Linked DNA regions of Homo sapiens: region 2 is linked to region 1. The links are contacts of gene promoters, found by promoter capture Hi-C in human tissues and cell types (Jung and others, 2019). All regions are on one chromosome and are shown on one strand. The core of a region is centred on a gene start or on the middle of the fragment in contact, and the rest is flanking DNA. Distances in the headings are between cores, read along the strand shown. Region 1 holds the start of RASGRP1 (RAS guanyl releasing protein 1). Region 2 overlaps GPR176 (G protein-coupled receptor 176).

Region 1 (7,365 bases), core at 2,839-5,338:
CATTTTTGTTACTAAACATCGTTTTTTCAAATCCTTACTTGGGTCCTGATTGAAACAGAAAGCAGAGCTGTGAGAGCGTTGTTCCAGCACTCAGTGTAAAAGGGCAAGTTTGGATCTAGAAATGGCTTAAGAGTCCAATGGACTTTCATCTACTCACACGCAGCTCTATCTCTGGTCATGACCTCATCAGTACAAGTCATTTTGCGAAATGATTTGGGAAGTTGATTGTCTTCTCCATTAAAAAATACACATACACACACAGATCCATATCTATAATCTTTTATGGTTTAATAGTGATGAGTGTTGCTGGTAACTCTCTTGAGCATTTAGTTAATTCTCCTCTCTCTACTGTGGCTTTGGTTATTTTGTAGTTTACTACCAAAGCAGCAAAGAGAAAAAGGAAAAAAACGTACCTCTGAAGTGTAACTTTACTCACTATATATGATAAATGCATAATGGCATCAATTAATCTCTAAGTGTTTATTCTATGAGTAAGGCATTGTGATTGGCCAGAGAAGACCACAGCGAGATAGTCTAGGTGAGGGTACTTTATATACTCATTACATACTAGCTGCTGTTGTTACATAATGGCAGTCTAGAAGTTCCTTAATACAAAAATATAGCTGAGGAATCAGACTGAGATAATGAAAAGAAAGCTACATAAATGTTAAATAAGTGTTCTATGAGTGTCAAGAGTAATAAGCATGATGTTCCCAGAGAAGAAAGAGGCAGTTTGTGGGACAGTGTCTGGGAAAGCTGCTCTGACAGGATATAATCTCAACCAAAGGGGCTGAAGAAGTGCTTAGATCAAAATAAAATGCTAGGCACATGTGGGTTTTGGGAAACCAGCCTGCTAAGAGATGGTGTATAACTGAACTATGGGGCCACTCAGTACACAGCTAGACCTGTGCAGGGGCACCCTGGCCCTTCAGGTTGTTTCAAACTAGCTCCAGGGCGCTGGTCTGCAGTGGCCGCTCGGCTCTATTCTGACCTGATGCAGGTCCAGTGAAACTGAATCAACAATTGGTTATTGGGCATCTGCTAACCCTAGGCAGTAATTCCTGAAAGATCAAGTCGGTGGTACAGGACTCAAGTTTCTGGCCATAATTGATTTTCAAACAGGCCCTGTGATAGCCCCAGAATTGGATCAGTCTCTAAAAGCAAAATAATAATGGTGACATGAATTGAGTACCTATGCTATGGCAGGTACCGTGCTGGGGACTGACCCTGTCTTGAGGCTTACAGCCCAGAAGGATGTTATCCCCATCTCATGACACTGAAACTGAATCTAAAAAAGGGTAAATGACATAGCCAAGGTTATAAAACTCATATATAATCAACCTGAGATTTGTACCCAGCACCTCTCTGGCTTTATTCATTTAATAAATATTGACTGTGCCTGGAACTCTGCACATTTCACAACATCAGGATTAGTAGTAGACAATCACAGAGAGGCTGAAAAGGTCAATTCAATTTAAAATGAAAGCAAAATCCTTCAAAAGCATAACTGGTAATGTAAAGGCTGAATCTCAGCCCATATTCCTCTTGCAGGCCCTCAGAACTGTCCTCAGGTCCCTAGAGCTGGACAGACTCTTTATGGTCATTTTCCAAAGCCCCCTTCTACAGTGTGGAGGTCCAGAATCAGAAGAGCAACGTGCCTGGCCACCACTGCAGAGACAGGCTAGAAGCCAGCCCCTTGTGGCCCATGCAGTGCGCCCCAGGTGGGCGCCCTTCCCTTCCTGGAAGCACTAACAACTCTCTACACCTGGGGCTACATAGCCACTGCTGGGATTACTCAGCTTTCTGCCCCAGCTGCTGCCTTTGTCACCATTAAGACCTCCACCAAAGGCAGAGTAGGGGAAAGGTTTTAAAAAAATAAAGTCATTCATTGTAGAAGTCTCCTTCTCTCAGGCCTTCCACAATACTTCTCCCTAGACCTTGGAGAAGAGGCAACTGCAACTAGAGGCTCTATCTACTGACAGAGCTCTTCCTGCTAGGGGTGGAGGGGAGGTGGCTACAGATCCAAGGAAAATTCCATTTTCTTTCTTGGTTGGTGACACTGACCATTCAAGACTCCTAATCCTGCCCTGTTTTCTAATTCTGGTAAAGTTTCCTAGTGTCACCAGTAAGAGAAACCGCTTTGTTTCATAAGTGGATTCTTGAAGGTTGATGCTTTTACCAGAACTAGAAGGGATCAGGGTAAAGTATAGGGTAGTAAAAGGGAAGAAAGGGTGACAAAAGCAATCTGGGAAGTATGGAGCCCAGAGAGACTCAGAGGACTAGGCCATGAGAGAACAGGGAGAAGAGAAAGTACTAAAAGCCAAAGTGCAGCCTCAGAGTTCTAAGAAGATGGGGATTATCTGCACCATAGACTAGGAAACCTGGCTTTCTTGCTGTACAGTCTCTTAACTGGTTGCCTTGTGAAAAATCCTCAAATCGTTCTGCCTTTTCTGGTGAAATGGGAGTAGACAAGGATTTATAAAATGCTCTATTATAGGCAGGTCGAAGGTGTTTTAACAATCCATAGAATGAATGGCCTCTGAGTCTGTAAAGGCATATTTTTTAAAAAAATACAGTAGCCAAATGTTTTCCTGTAAATGAAAAAACCAAAACCCCGAGAGAAACAAATTAACTTGAAGGTGTTTTCCAAGCCTAAAAGTAACCAAAGCCCCATAGGTTTGCTGAAGGAGACCGTCAAAACTCTAAACTGGTTTAGGTGAAATCCTCTCCAGGCATAGGTATCTCAGTGGAGGTCAGTTTCAGGCTGAGCTTTTTATGAAATCCGCCTAGAAAAGTAAGAGATGAAATGGAGCAAGGGAACTGGAACTTCCACAACTTTCTTTGCAGTGGAAGGTGACTCTCTTGACTTCTAGTATGGATTCCTTCCAGTCCCGTCCTCTTCCCCTTACAATACTCAATTTAATGTACTGAACTCCTCCTTCTGAATCTAGTGCAAAGTACAGTGGTGGACCCTCAGGGGATACCTGGATGGGGAGAGGCAGGGCGTGCATACAGGGCCAAGAATCCTTCGTTCCTGGGATTATAAGCACGGGAAGTCCAGCATCGCAAGCTTCCTGCCGCTACTGGGTATGGTGGTGCAAGGCACAGTCCCATCAGTGTCGATGTGAATGGAGTTGTGAAGTGCACAACTTGTCCAGCCCCTACGCCGAGGCCAGGCCTTTGTTCATGCAGTTGCCTAGTTCTGGTCCTTTGGCTACAAACTCAAAGCTGCCTGGCCAAGAGCCCTTTCACTCACTGTCCCTCTTTCTTCAACTTCTGTTATCCAAGACCCTCTATAGAATCATAGTGAGGGGGAGAGGAGTGCAGCTTCCCATACGGAAGGCGATATGTTTCCCTGACCCACGGATCTGGAAACTTCCGTGGGGCAGGGGCAACCGAGGGGTGCCACCTCTGCGGGCTCCCTGCAAGCTCCTCGGCCGTTCTGGGCAGGGCCGGGAGGGGCCACCAGGTGGCGCAGCCGGAGCCCAGCGCCCCAGCAGGTGCGGGCAGCGCGGAAAGTCCGCGAGTGGGAGTCCCGATGCCGGGCGTGGAGATGTGGGGGAGGAAGTCGGCGGGCGGGCGCCGGCTCCGCGAAGAGCTTCGGCCCTAGCAGATCTCACCGGACGAGCTCTGGCCTCGCGGCCGCCCCTCTACCACCCCTCAGCCCCAGCTCCCTCCCCGAAACCCCGGGCGCAGCGCGCCGGGCGTTCTGGACACGTCCGCCCGTCGCGCTGGTGTCCCGGGACTCCGGCCGACCCCGGCCCCCCTCCGCCCTCAACTTCCCTCGGGGTGTTGGGGCGACGGGCAGGGGCCTCTTTCCCAAGAAAGGACACAGGCGCTCCCGAGGGCCACGGCCGCCTCTACTCACCGCGGAGCCTCTCTCGCCTTGCCCAGGGTGCCCATGGCCGCGGCCCGCGCTCCCGGTGCCGGCTCACCTAGCGCGGCCGGGCGCGGCGCATCGCCCCCGCCACCACCGCCGCCGCCTGCCGGCTCTCTCCCCCCCGGGCCTCGTAGCCCCGGCGCCCGCCAGCCCTCGAGCCCGGCGAGCCCGACCGAGGTGCACCGCAGGCACAAACTTTGTGCGAGCGCGCCCCCTCTGCCTCGCGCGCGCGCTCACACCCGCCTGGCAACCACCTGACACGCTGATGCTGGCGGCTGCAGGAAACGTGCGGCGCCCCGCCGCTCTTCCCCGAAACCTGCCCCCTTTCCGCGGGTGCCCCGGCCTGCGCCTCGCGCGGTTCTCTCACCCCTGCCCGCCTTCGACCTCTCTTGGCCAAAGGGTTAAGTCTCAGGGGAGTTGGAGAGGAGCGGGCTCCCGGCTACCACGCCCGCGCCTTGCAGGGCACCTGTGCCCGTCGACCTCCACCTCAGCTCGGGAAACGGGCTGCGCCTAGCGGCTCCCATGGGACCCCCTTTCCCGCAGCCGACCCGCAGCTTCCACGCCTCTTCCTGCGGCCGCTGCTCGGAGCACTGCAGTGAGGACGCCTTCTCCCCTCCAGGGCCTCTCCTGTATATATCAGAGCGCGGAGTCCGGCAGGGGAAAGGAACGGAAAGACAGTTGTGAAGTTGCCTTAACCTGTGCCCTGGGGTCTCTAGGTAGCCGTCTGCAGGACTGGGCCGTAGACATGTGCCCTGTGCCCTGCGCCCTGCACCTTGGACGAGGGCTGCCTGTGTGGAGGTGCGCTCCACAGGCGTGATCCATATCTGGCCCAGACGCGGCCGCCTGGCGTCGGTGGGTGTAGGAGATGTGGGGACAACTTTCATACAACGTCAGTGCGCACAGAAGACCTGGCCAAGAGGGGCGGCCCATCCGCTGCTTGTCCAGGTGATAGTGCTGATAATCTCAATAGCTAATGATTGAGTGCGGTTGTGCTAAGTGCTTTCTATACATTACCTCATTTAATCCACTCTCCCTGATACAAAGAGATCACTGTTGTAAAGATGAGAAAATGAAGGTTTAGAGAATGCTATGCCTTAGATCATACAACTAATAAACAGCAGAGAGACCTCTGACTTGGACTGAGGTCTGTCTGACTCCCTGTAATCACTGCTGGACTGCCCTAATAACACACTCATTATCACGGCCACAGACCATAACTCTAGCCACAGTCATAGTTGTCTTCCTGGCCATAGTGTTCTGGACTTTAAAGCCTTCCTCTGTTTCATTTATATATTTCCTTATATTTATATGCTACCTTGTCCTTAAAACAGAATTCGAGATAGCTTACAAGAGCACATAACCTACAAAAAGAAGTGTGTGAAATGAAAAATGAGGCACACAAGATGGAGCCAAAAATGAACATCATTTGAAATAAATGCATCTCATAGAGTCAAATACCCTTGCTACAGGTGGGACCAAAATTTGTCTCCTGCATTTCTAGCAGTCAAGTTTAAAGAGAGGCCTTGTCTAAAGTTCAATTCCTATCACATGCAAGACCAAAAACAAAATTGCTCAAGAGAAGATCCCCCTTTCTTGATACTGAGACCAGCAAGAAATTTCTCCAGAGAATCCTCATGAACACTGGGTGATATAAAGAACCAAGTCCTCAGTCACAGCCACAGATGCAGAAGGGGCAGGTGAATGTCAGGAGAATATTAAATGATGACACTCTTTCTCACTCACTGGGTCTAAGGCTCAAACATTTTTAGAGTTATCTATTATACACCCTTCCTCATGTAAGCCCTACAACCTAAACAACCAAGTTGGCGGATGTCTGAGGATGGTAAAGATTTGTATCTATATATGAATCTATCTGACTATCTCCCAACAGTCCTAAGTTTGCAGTCTTAGACTTTGTTCACAGAGATCTTCTCTTATTACCAGGTGAACAATTACTTTTCACTGACCCCTCTACTACAGAATGAGCTCTTTACCCTACTTAAATCTATAATATTTACACTTTCAATTGCCACATAATATTCTGTGTCCCTGTCTTACCTCCACAGCTAAACTGTAAATTGTCCGAGGTCAAGAATCAGGTCTTATGCTTCTTTAGCTTCCACAGCTGCCAACTTGAGGCAGTACCTGTGGGACATTACTAATGAACTGCTGTGGATTTGATTTTGAAAAGCAAAATGTGCTGACCTCAAAGAAGAAAATAAGATCCTTCCTGATTATTTCCGGAGAAAGGGTTTCAGTTTTTCTTTGAAGTCCGCTGTCTATGGCAGGAGTGATAAGCTTACTGGCACTGTCCCCGGTGGCTTTCGTGGGATCCCCATCACAGGTTATCCGAGGCCTTCGGTATTTCTCTATTGCTTCACCCTTGAAAATAGAGCCCCTTCCATGCCATTCATTGCACTGAGTCTTTGGACAGCAAAATCTTTGTGTGTGGCAGGGGAATAATCCAGCCTTATACTGCATATGCATAGGTATGTATGCCAAATGGATGCCTTTATGTAAATGCATCATTATATTTATATGTAAATATACATATATGCATAATACTAAGTGCACATGTAGGCAGTTACACACATCTGCACACCTACAGTCCACATATATACAAATGGTTGAAACCAAGGTTATTAATTCATTCAATACATGAGTCTTGCTGAGTTTTCTAAAGAAAGAGGCCTACATATGCCCAGCGAGTGTTTTTCTCTTGGACTTTCTGAGTACTCTGCACTTCACTTGCATCTGATTCTGCTTCTGGGCCCCCTCGAGCTCTTTTTTGAGGTTTTCTGGCTACTCCTACCTGAGCAATAAGTCTTTTCCAAACATCTAAAAAATGAGAAGTTTGTCTATGTCTCTTTTAATCATCGGCCATGTGATTAGTCTGCCTGGTGTTATATGAGGCACCTCTGACCTCAAGAACAAACTTTTTTTTTTTTTCACAAAATACATCATTTAATATAACATTCTTATAAGGTAGCTAATGAGGATAATATTCGTGCTTTTAAAAAAATCATTATACTTTAAGTTCTGGGATACATGTGCAGAACGTGCAGGTTTGTAATATAGGTATACAAGTGCCACGGTGGTTTGCTGCACCCATCAACCCGTCATCTACATTAGGTATTTCTCCTAATGCTATCCCTCCCCTAGCTCCCACCCCCAGACAGGCCCCAGTGTGTGATGTTCCCCTCCCTGTATCCATGTGTTCTCATCGTTCAACTCCCACTTATGAGTGAGAACATGCGGTGTTTGGTTTTCCATTCCTGTGTTAGTTGGCTGAGAATGATGGTTTCCAGCTTCATCCATATCCCTGCAAAGGACATGAACTCATCCTTTTTTATGGCTGCATAGTATTCCGTGGTGTATATGTGCCACGTTTTCTTTATCCAGTCTATCATTGATGGGCATTCGGGTTGGTTCCAAGTCTTTACTATTGTGAACAGTGCTGCAGTAAACATACATGTGCATGTGTC
Region 2 (7,365 bases), core at 1,225-3,724, 1.2 Mb after region 1:
TCTGTAAGCACCTAAACAGAATTCCAAAAGCATGCCGTTTCAATATCACCAGTGATTTGAGGGAACTGAATAACTCTTTGCACCCTAGAACCACATCTGTAGTAAAAGGGCTGCCACTAGCTCTCAGAGATATGGTCAGTTTCTTCACATTTGCTTGGCCATATCTGTGCAGTCAGTTAATGCTGGGGTTGACCTTACAACCTTAGTGACACCCATTCACTCATAGGGCAAGTAAGCACATAAGCTTTCAGATAACAAGTACTTCTTTTTTTTTTTTTTTTTTTTTTTTTTGAGATAGAGTCTCACTCTGTCGCCCAGGCTGGAGTATAGTGGCATGATCTAGGCTCACTGCAACCTTCGCCTTCTGGGTTCAAGCCATTCTCCTGCCTCAGTCTCTCGAGCAGCTGGGATTACAGGCATGCACTACCACGCCTGGCTAATTTTTGTATTTTTAGTAGAGACGGAGTTTCGCCATGTTGGCCCAGGCTGGTCTCGAACTCCTAACCTCAGCTGATCCACCCGCCTCGGCCTCCCAAAGTGGTTGGATTACAGACGTGAGCCACCGTGCCCAGCCTCCTGTAACAGGTACTTCTGAGCACCACCTATGCACCAGGTCCTGTGCCTGGCACTGGGTTATAAGAATGAAAAGACACAGGAATGTCTCTAAACCCAACGGGGACAAAGATACACACACTAATAATTACGAACAAGGAGATGACAGCTCTACTAGAGGCAGGCACAAAGGAGGTACAGGTAGCGCCTAAAGCCACCTGGGAAAATAGCAAGAGAGGGAGACACTGCAGTGGAGTCTGGCAGGGGGACCAGCTGAAGGGGAACATTCCAGGCTGAAAGAGATGGGATGCAAACACAATAGCGACCATGGACAATCAGGGAAGGAGGGAGCATGGTAAGATATGTTCTAGATTTCTTTCTGGGAGGAGGGAAAAAGAGAAAGAAGTGCATAAGTGATGCATGCTTTCACATTTTTTTTTCTCTGAATGTAGATAGTTTTGTAATGACAACTCAGTAAATATGTGATGGCCCCACCTGTACACATGAATAGATGCTTAGGAGTTCACTGGCTCTGACTGCCATTTGCTCACTGACATGTAACAAACCCAGGCTTCCATTAATTTCCAATCCCGTTACATGTTGGGAAACAGATTGCAACATAAGCACACAGGCTCACTATAAATAATGTTCTTAGTGTGTACACCTCTAAACAGTGATGCAAGAAGTGTAGATGACCTCCCGATGAACTTGCTGACTTAGTACCATGAAATGAATAGCTATGAAGGAAGTGAGAGAAAAGACTGTCTTCTCTTCTTCAGGTGTACATGTGGATGCTTGTAAGTAATTTGCATCTGTGAATAACAAAATAGGAATTCACCAGCCCTGTTTTCCTACTAAAAGGACTTGTTTTACTTTTTAAAATTATGATAAATTTACAATAGCTTTTCTGCTGGAAAGAAAATGAGAATTTCTTACTGTTTTCGTATTTCTTTGTTTAAGACCAAGGCCCCAGAAGTAACCCACAGGGATTATTGCATTGCTTCCAGGTATAACAGCAAACTGTTCAGAATAATGTATTCTCCTTGTTGAGTCTTATTTAAAAAAAAAAAAAAACTTTCAGGATTCATAGCAGCATTACTCACAATATCCAAAAAGTAGAAACAACCTAAATATCCACCAACTAGTAAATGGAGAAACAAATTTAGTATACTCCTAAAATTAAATGAATATATTATTTGGCCATGAAAAATGAATGAAGTACTGATACATTCTATAACATGAACTTTGAAAACATGCTGAGTGAAAGAAGCCAGACACAAAAGAACACACACTGTATGATTCCACCTACATGTAATGTCCAATAAAGCAAACATATAGAAAAAGAGAGTAGATTCATAGTTGTTTATGGTCTGGGGATGGGCACAAGGAGTGACTGTAAGTAAATGGGCACAAGTTTCTTTGTGAGGTAATAGAAATGTTTTAAAATTATATTGTGATGATGGCTGTACAATTCTATAAATATATTAAAATTCATTGACTTGTATACTTCCAATAGGTGAATTTTATAATATGTAAATTATATCTCAGTCCAGAATATCAAACTGAAGACTTAAGACTTTACCACAGCAGGTACTACCAGGGGCATTCAGAAGGACACTGAACACAAAATGGTTCGACATAAAATGCATTAGTGTACCCACCGGAAGTACTCTTGAGAAAGGACTCTGACTTCACTCTTATATTCCAGTCCTGTGCAATGGCACTTTCCAGATATTCAAAAAGCAATGGAAGAGACATGCAACGTCACCATAAAGCAGGCGTGGCAAATTGGCATCTCAGGGCACACATTCATCTTGCTGAAGGGATTCACATGACCCACATAATACTTTTTGAAAAAAAAAAATAATTGCCAACATTTTTAAATTATGGAATTCTAAATTTTTTTATTCCTCTTCTGAAAGAATAAAAAAGTCCTGCCCACCGAGTCTAGATTCCTACAAAGCAATTATTAGCTGCAACTGCTGAGCGGCTGATCCCCATGAACGAGAATGTGGACACACTCTCCACGTGCCACAATTGCAACCTGGTTATTGCTTGACTTGTCACCTGCCTTGTTTGGCTCCATGGATGGTGAGATTCCAGTCCCTTCTAAGGAGCTGGAGCTGCTCCCAGCAAGATCTGATGGTAACATGATTGCAGAAATATATCTAAGGAAGAATGTGCCATCAGAAGGGAAGCCTGAGAAAGAGAGGCAAATATTGGTGCAGCCCATCCTAACACAGGCCATAAATAATTCACTTAATTATTTCTACTGCTCTGGAATCTGAGGCTCAGAAAGTTTAAGCAGCTTTACCCAAAGCCACTCAGCTAGAAAGCTATGTAGGCAGGACTCAAAGCCAGGCTTCTATTCCAACATCCATTCTCTTAACCACAATGGCAATGACTTCTCCCAGTATGCTGGGGGCTTCGTGTGACTCTGTGTCCCTCCATGCAGACAGCACCAGGCAGCTGAAGAAATCAGGGTCCCTGGCCTGAGAGGCTGAAATGACTCTATAGATGGGTTCTACAATCAATACCCTCACAGGTCATTAAGGTATTATGTTTTGAATGGACAAAGAGTTCTAAATTTTCAAATTAATCTAAAATGTAGTTAAATTTTAACATAGGGCATAAAATCAGAATAGCCTGCACTTTCCCTTCAGCAACGTTTCCTCTATGTTAATCTTGAAATCAAAAGTACTCATGGACATAAAATACTTTTCAATTCTTGTTTGCTTACTTAATTCAATTCTCTAGAAAATATTATCTAAACTGTATTCATGAAGCACTAGCTAGAAAGGAGAAAGGCAGGAATTTGCTGATTATGAGATCTTTATGCAACTTTGATAAAATTGATAAAATTATGTAGAATGGCAGTAACTAAGATGTAAGGTTCACTTCCAAATGAACATCTTTTTAAAGAGGATAGGAAGAGAAAGCAATCACCACTGCAATATGAAGCCTTGGAAATAAATCCTCCAGAGGAATTCTGGTGTTACCTAGCCAGATCCAAGTGGACCATCTAATCGCTTGTTAAATAACCACTGAATCATTCCCTTGTTCTTTCAGAGATGTTCCATACTGCATCAAAAAGCCCTAATTGCAGAGTTATCAATCAGATGAAAAATCTACTGCAAATTGCAACACAAATACCACCAACTGCAACCAAGCTGAACTGACACCATGATCTAGCAGCTCTGCCCCAGCATCCTCACCATGGAACTCCCATCCCCAGGTCTTCTCTCAATGGTTTTATTTTCCATGGCTGTTGCTAAATCCACCTGTCCTTTGTGAGGCATCTGTTTTGCACATTTATTCCCTTTCTGTTGATCACAAGCTGACTAAAAAGCAGTATACGGAACATTGACTACTCATCATTTGCTTCATGATGCTAATTTTTTAATACAACTTAAAAAAAAAAGTTAGCTCCTGGCTACCTGATCTTACCTGTCCAAAGCAATAGCAGGGAAGCTGAGGATGGTCACAGAGCAGAATACTTTGTGCAAAAATTTGACGACCTTGCAGAAGAGCATGGTGTAGATCCACCAGCAACAGTGAGGACTGGTGCTGAGGATGATGTCGAAGGGCACACAGACCAGGCTGGCACAAATCCCCGAGCAGGCCAGGTTTTTAATGAACCTGTTGGTGACAGATTTGAACACGGTTGTGCGGCAAGTTGACCATAACACCATGAAGTTTCCTGGTCAGATATGAAAGAAAATAAAATAATTTAAATAAAAATTTAAGAACTAAAAAAAGGAAAAAAGTACAGGTTAAAAAATGTAAAAAACACATTTGAGAGTTGATTTCAAAAGATTTAATGTAAATCCTAATATTAAAATTTAACATATATGATACATTACAGTCAATTTATGTGAAATTATTAAATCACATATCAATAAGTCTAGAAAAAATTTTAGTGGTGAGTTTCTCTATTTAATTTTGGGCAAAATAGTATTATAACGATGGCTTAGTCTCATCAGTGTATAAACAATTTGCTAGTTATTACTTAATCCCAGGCAGTCTGCTCTTATCAAGTTTTCTAGTGACCTCCATGTTGCCAAACTCTGCAACAGAAATACAGTGCAAACCGCACATGTCATCTTAAATTTATGGTAGCCATGTTTTAAAAAAGTAAAGAGAAGCAGGTGAGATTTTAATAATATTTTTTATTCAACCCAACAGATCCCAAATATTTCAACATGTAATGATTACTTTAAAATTATTAATATTTTTCATTGTTGTTTTTGTACTAAGTCTTCAAAATGCAATGTGCATTTTATTTTACACTTACAGCACATCTCAGTTTGCACTAGTCACCTTTCAATAGCCACATGCAGCTAGTGGCCACCACACTGGACAGCACTGTTCTAGACTTCAGCAGCAATGATGCAACCAATCATCTCTCTTTGAGCATTGTCCTCTGTGGCTTCCACAGGCCTACAATCTCCTGGTTTTCCTTCCACCCTCCCGCTTCCGCCAGTCCTTGGCTGCTGCAAGTCTACTCTTACCAGGTTTTACAGAAGAGCATGGTACAGCTCCGCCCCCTCTATCCTCTCTCAATAGCCTCTCCCTACGTTAGACTACCCATTCTGGTAATTTTCCATCAAAATGCTGATGACTCCCAAATTCATGTCCTAAAGTAGGGTTTTCCCCTCAACTCCAGAATCCTTTTTCCAGATAAACTTCTGATACCCCTCTCAATCCCCACCATGTTCCTCAAGGGTTTACCTACTCCGATGCCTGCTGCCTAATCTCATACCTTCCTTCCCCTGGCTTGCTGGGCTCCAGCCACTCTAGTCTTTGTGCCATTCCTGAAACACATCAGGGCTAATCCTGCCTCAGTGCCTTTGTATACATTTTCTTATACTGCTTGGGATGTTGTTCATATGTCTGATTACTTTAAATCCCAGTCTTAGTTTAAATGCTGCCTTGTCAAAAAAGCCTTCTCTAACCATTATTTTATTTTAAACACTAACTGCTCCTGCCTCCATTATGCTCCATTATCATATCCCATTGCATCCTTCATAGTTCTCATCACAATTATTCATTTGTTGACTTGTTATCTCTCCATTTCATGAAGAAAAACTGTATCAATCTTGTTCACTGTTGTAACTCCATGCCTAGCTCAGTATCTGGCACAGAGTAGGCATTTGATAAATATTTGTTGAAGAAATGAATTTGTAAAATAAGCAGACACACGGTAATCAAAAGTCCCTGTGGTAAGAGAACCCCTTTTGTAGTATGTATGTCATGTAAAGATATTCTAAGTCAGCAAGCAGTTCCCAAATCTCACCATACGTCGGAATGACTGTACCAGATATACTGAATCACAGTGCATAAGTATGAAACTGGGAACCTGCAACTGTAACAGGCACGTTGGTACAGTTGGCCCCCAGACTACAGTTTCTTTTAAACCACTTTTAGACAGAGTCCACAGCCCCATGCTCAGACTCTCACAGGGAACCAGTCCTCAGGTGTGAAGGGCAGCCTGCTGAGGGGTTTTATTAGCATTTACATGCTCATGAATGAGGAAAGTTGTTTTCATGCTGTTATTTCTTTAAAACCCGAGACTGCTATAATCACATTTTATTTCCATCTATTTATATGCCTCTAGACAGCATGCAGAGCCTAATCTCTTCTGCTATTAAGAACCTGAGGCTAAATAGTCCTATGTTCTTTCCATTCTCTAAACCTCTGCTCTCGCTCTCTCCTCATTTAAAACTGACTCATTTGGTTCTAAGAACCTGAATTGGATGAACATGTCAGGATACAAGCACCCATACCCAATACCCATTTGGTTACACATTTAAAAATAAATGTGTGTGTGTGTGTGTGCGTGTGCATGTACATGTGCATGCCCACACAGCAACAAAGCAAGATAACTATATGATTATTTAACCTCATTAGCACTTCAGATTCTCCTTCGTTTTACAAGGCATACCAAGTAAGGATAACTCATTATATATTTAAGTAACAAAATTTTCAACCTCTATATACTTTTTATTTTAGAGGTCACATTCTAAGTCACCTAATCTACCCTAGAAATGATCTAAGCTCTGGAACCATTCCAATTCCCTATGTATTCCCATTATACTTTCTAATGTTTAATTCCATGACAATACTCAACGCCATTGCTGTGGACACAGCAACACAATTAGGACATACAGCCCATACAACCAAAAAGGAAATAAGAGGTAGAGAGTGGTGACATTGGTACAAGTCTGCCCTCCCTGGGACTGCTGTAACTATGTCATTCCTCAAGAAAAATAACTAACGGATACTAGGCTTAAGACCTGAGTGATGGCCGGGCGCGGTGGCTCATGCCTGTAATCCCAGCACTTTGGGAGGCTGAGGCGGGCGGATCACGAGGTCAGGAGATCGAGACCATCCTGGCTAACATGGTGAAACCCCGTCTCTACTAAATATACAAAAAATTAGCCCAGCGTGGTTGCGGGCGCCTATAGTACCAGCTGCTCGGGAGGCTGAGGCAGGAGAACGGCGTGAACCCAGGAGGCGGAGCTTGCAGTGAGCTGAGATCGTGCCACTCCAGCCTGGGTGACAGAGTGAGACTCCGTCTCAAAAAAAAAAAAAAAAGACCTGAGTGATGAAATAATCTGTACAACAAACCCCCATGGCACATGTTTACCTATGGAACAGACCTGCACATCCTGCACATGTGGCCCTGAACTTAAATAAAAGTTAAAAAAAATACAAATTAAGACTTCTCGTTCTGTAATATACTTAATAGTCAAAGATAGTGGATGTGGAAGACAAAGCCATGTGAATTAACCACAACTCTGACAGACAGTG

Evidence for each region. The method cuts DNA at HindIII sites, captures the fragments that hold promoters and counts their contacts. A contact is called where the count stands out against the background at its distance.
Region 2: a fragment that was not itself captured here is called in contact with the fragment with the promoter of RASGRP1 in region 1 in 1 of the 25 tissues and cell types used here (pancreas).

What each region holds. Positions count from the first base shown.
Region 1 is chr15:38,560,726-38,568,090 of GRCh38, forward strand. It overlaps RASGRP1 (RAS guanyl releasing protein 1), which reads right to left and starts at 4,089. Exons shown (of 17, transcript NM_005739.4): 1 at 3,869-4,089. The coding sequence starts at 3,903. RefSeq lists enhancers at 1,481-1,610, 1,671-1,770, 4,153-4,664, 4,506-4,695 and silencers at 3,386-3,585, 3,596-3,815, 3,846-4,085, 4,246-4,295. The HindIII fragment of the contact is 10,595 bases long and covers 1-7,365 here.
Region 2 is chr15:39,803,007-39,810,371 of GRCh38, forward strand. It overlaps GPR176 (G protein-coupled receptor 176), which reads right to left. Exons shown (of 3, transcript NM_007223.3): 2 at 4,000-4,252. Among named protein-coding and RNA genes, the nearest start is that of FSIP1, 24 kb to the left of the region's middle. The HindIII fragment of the contact is 5,029 bases long and covers 1-4,989 here.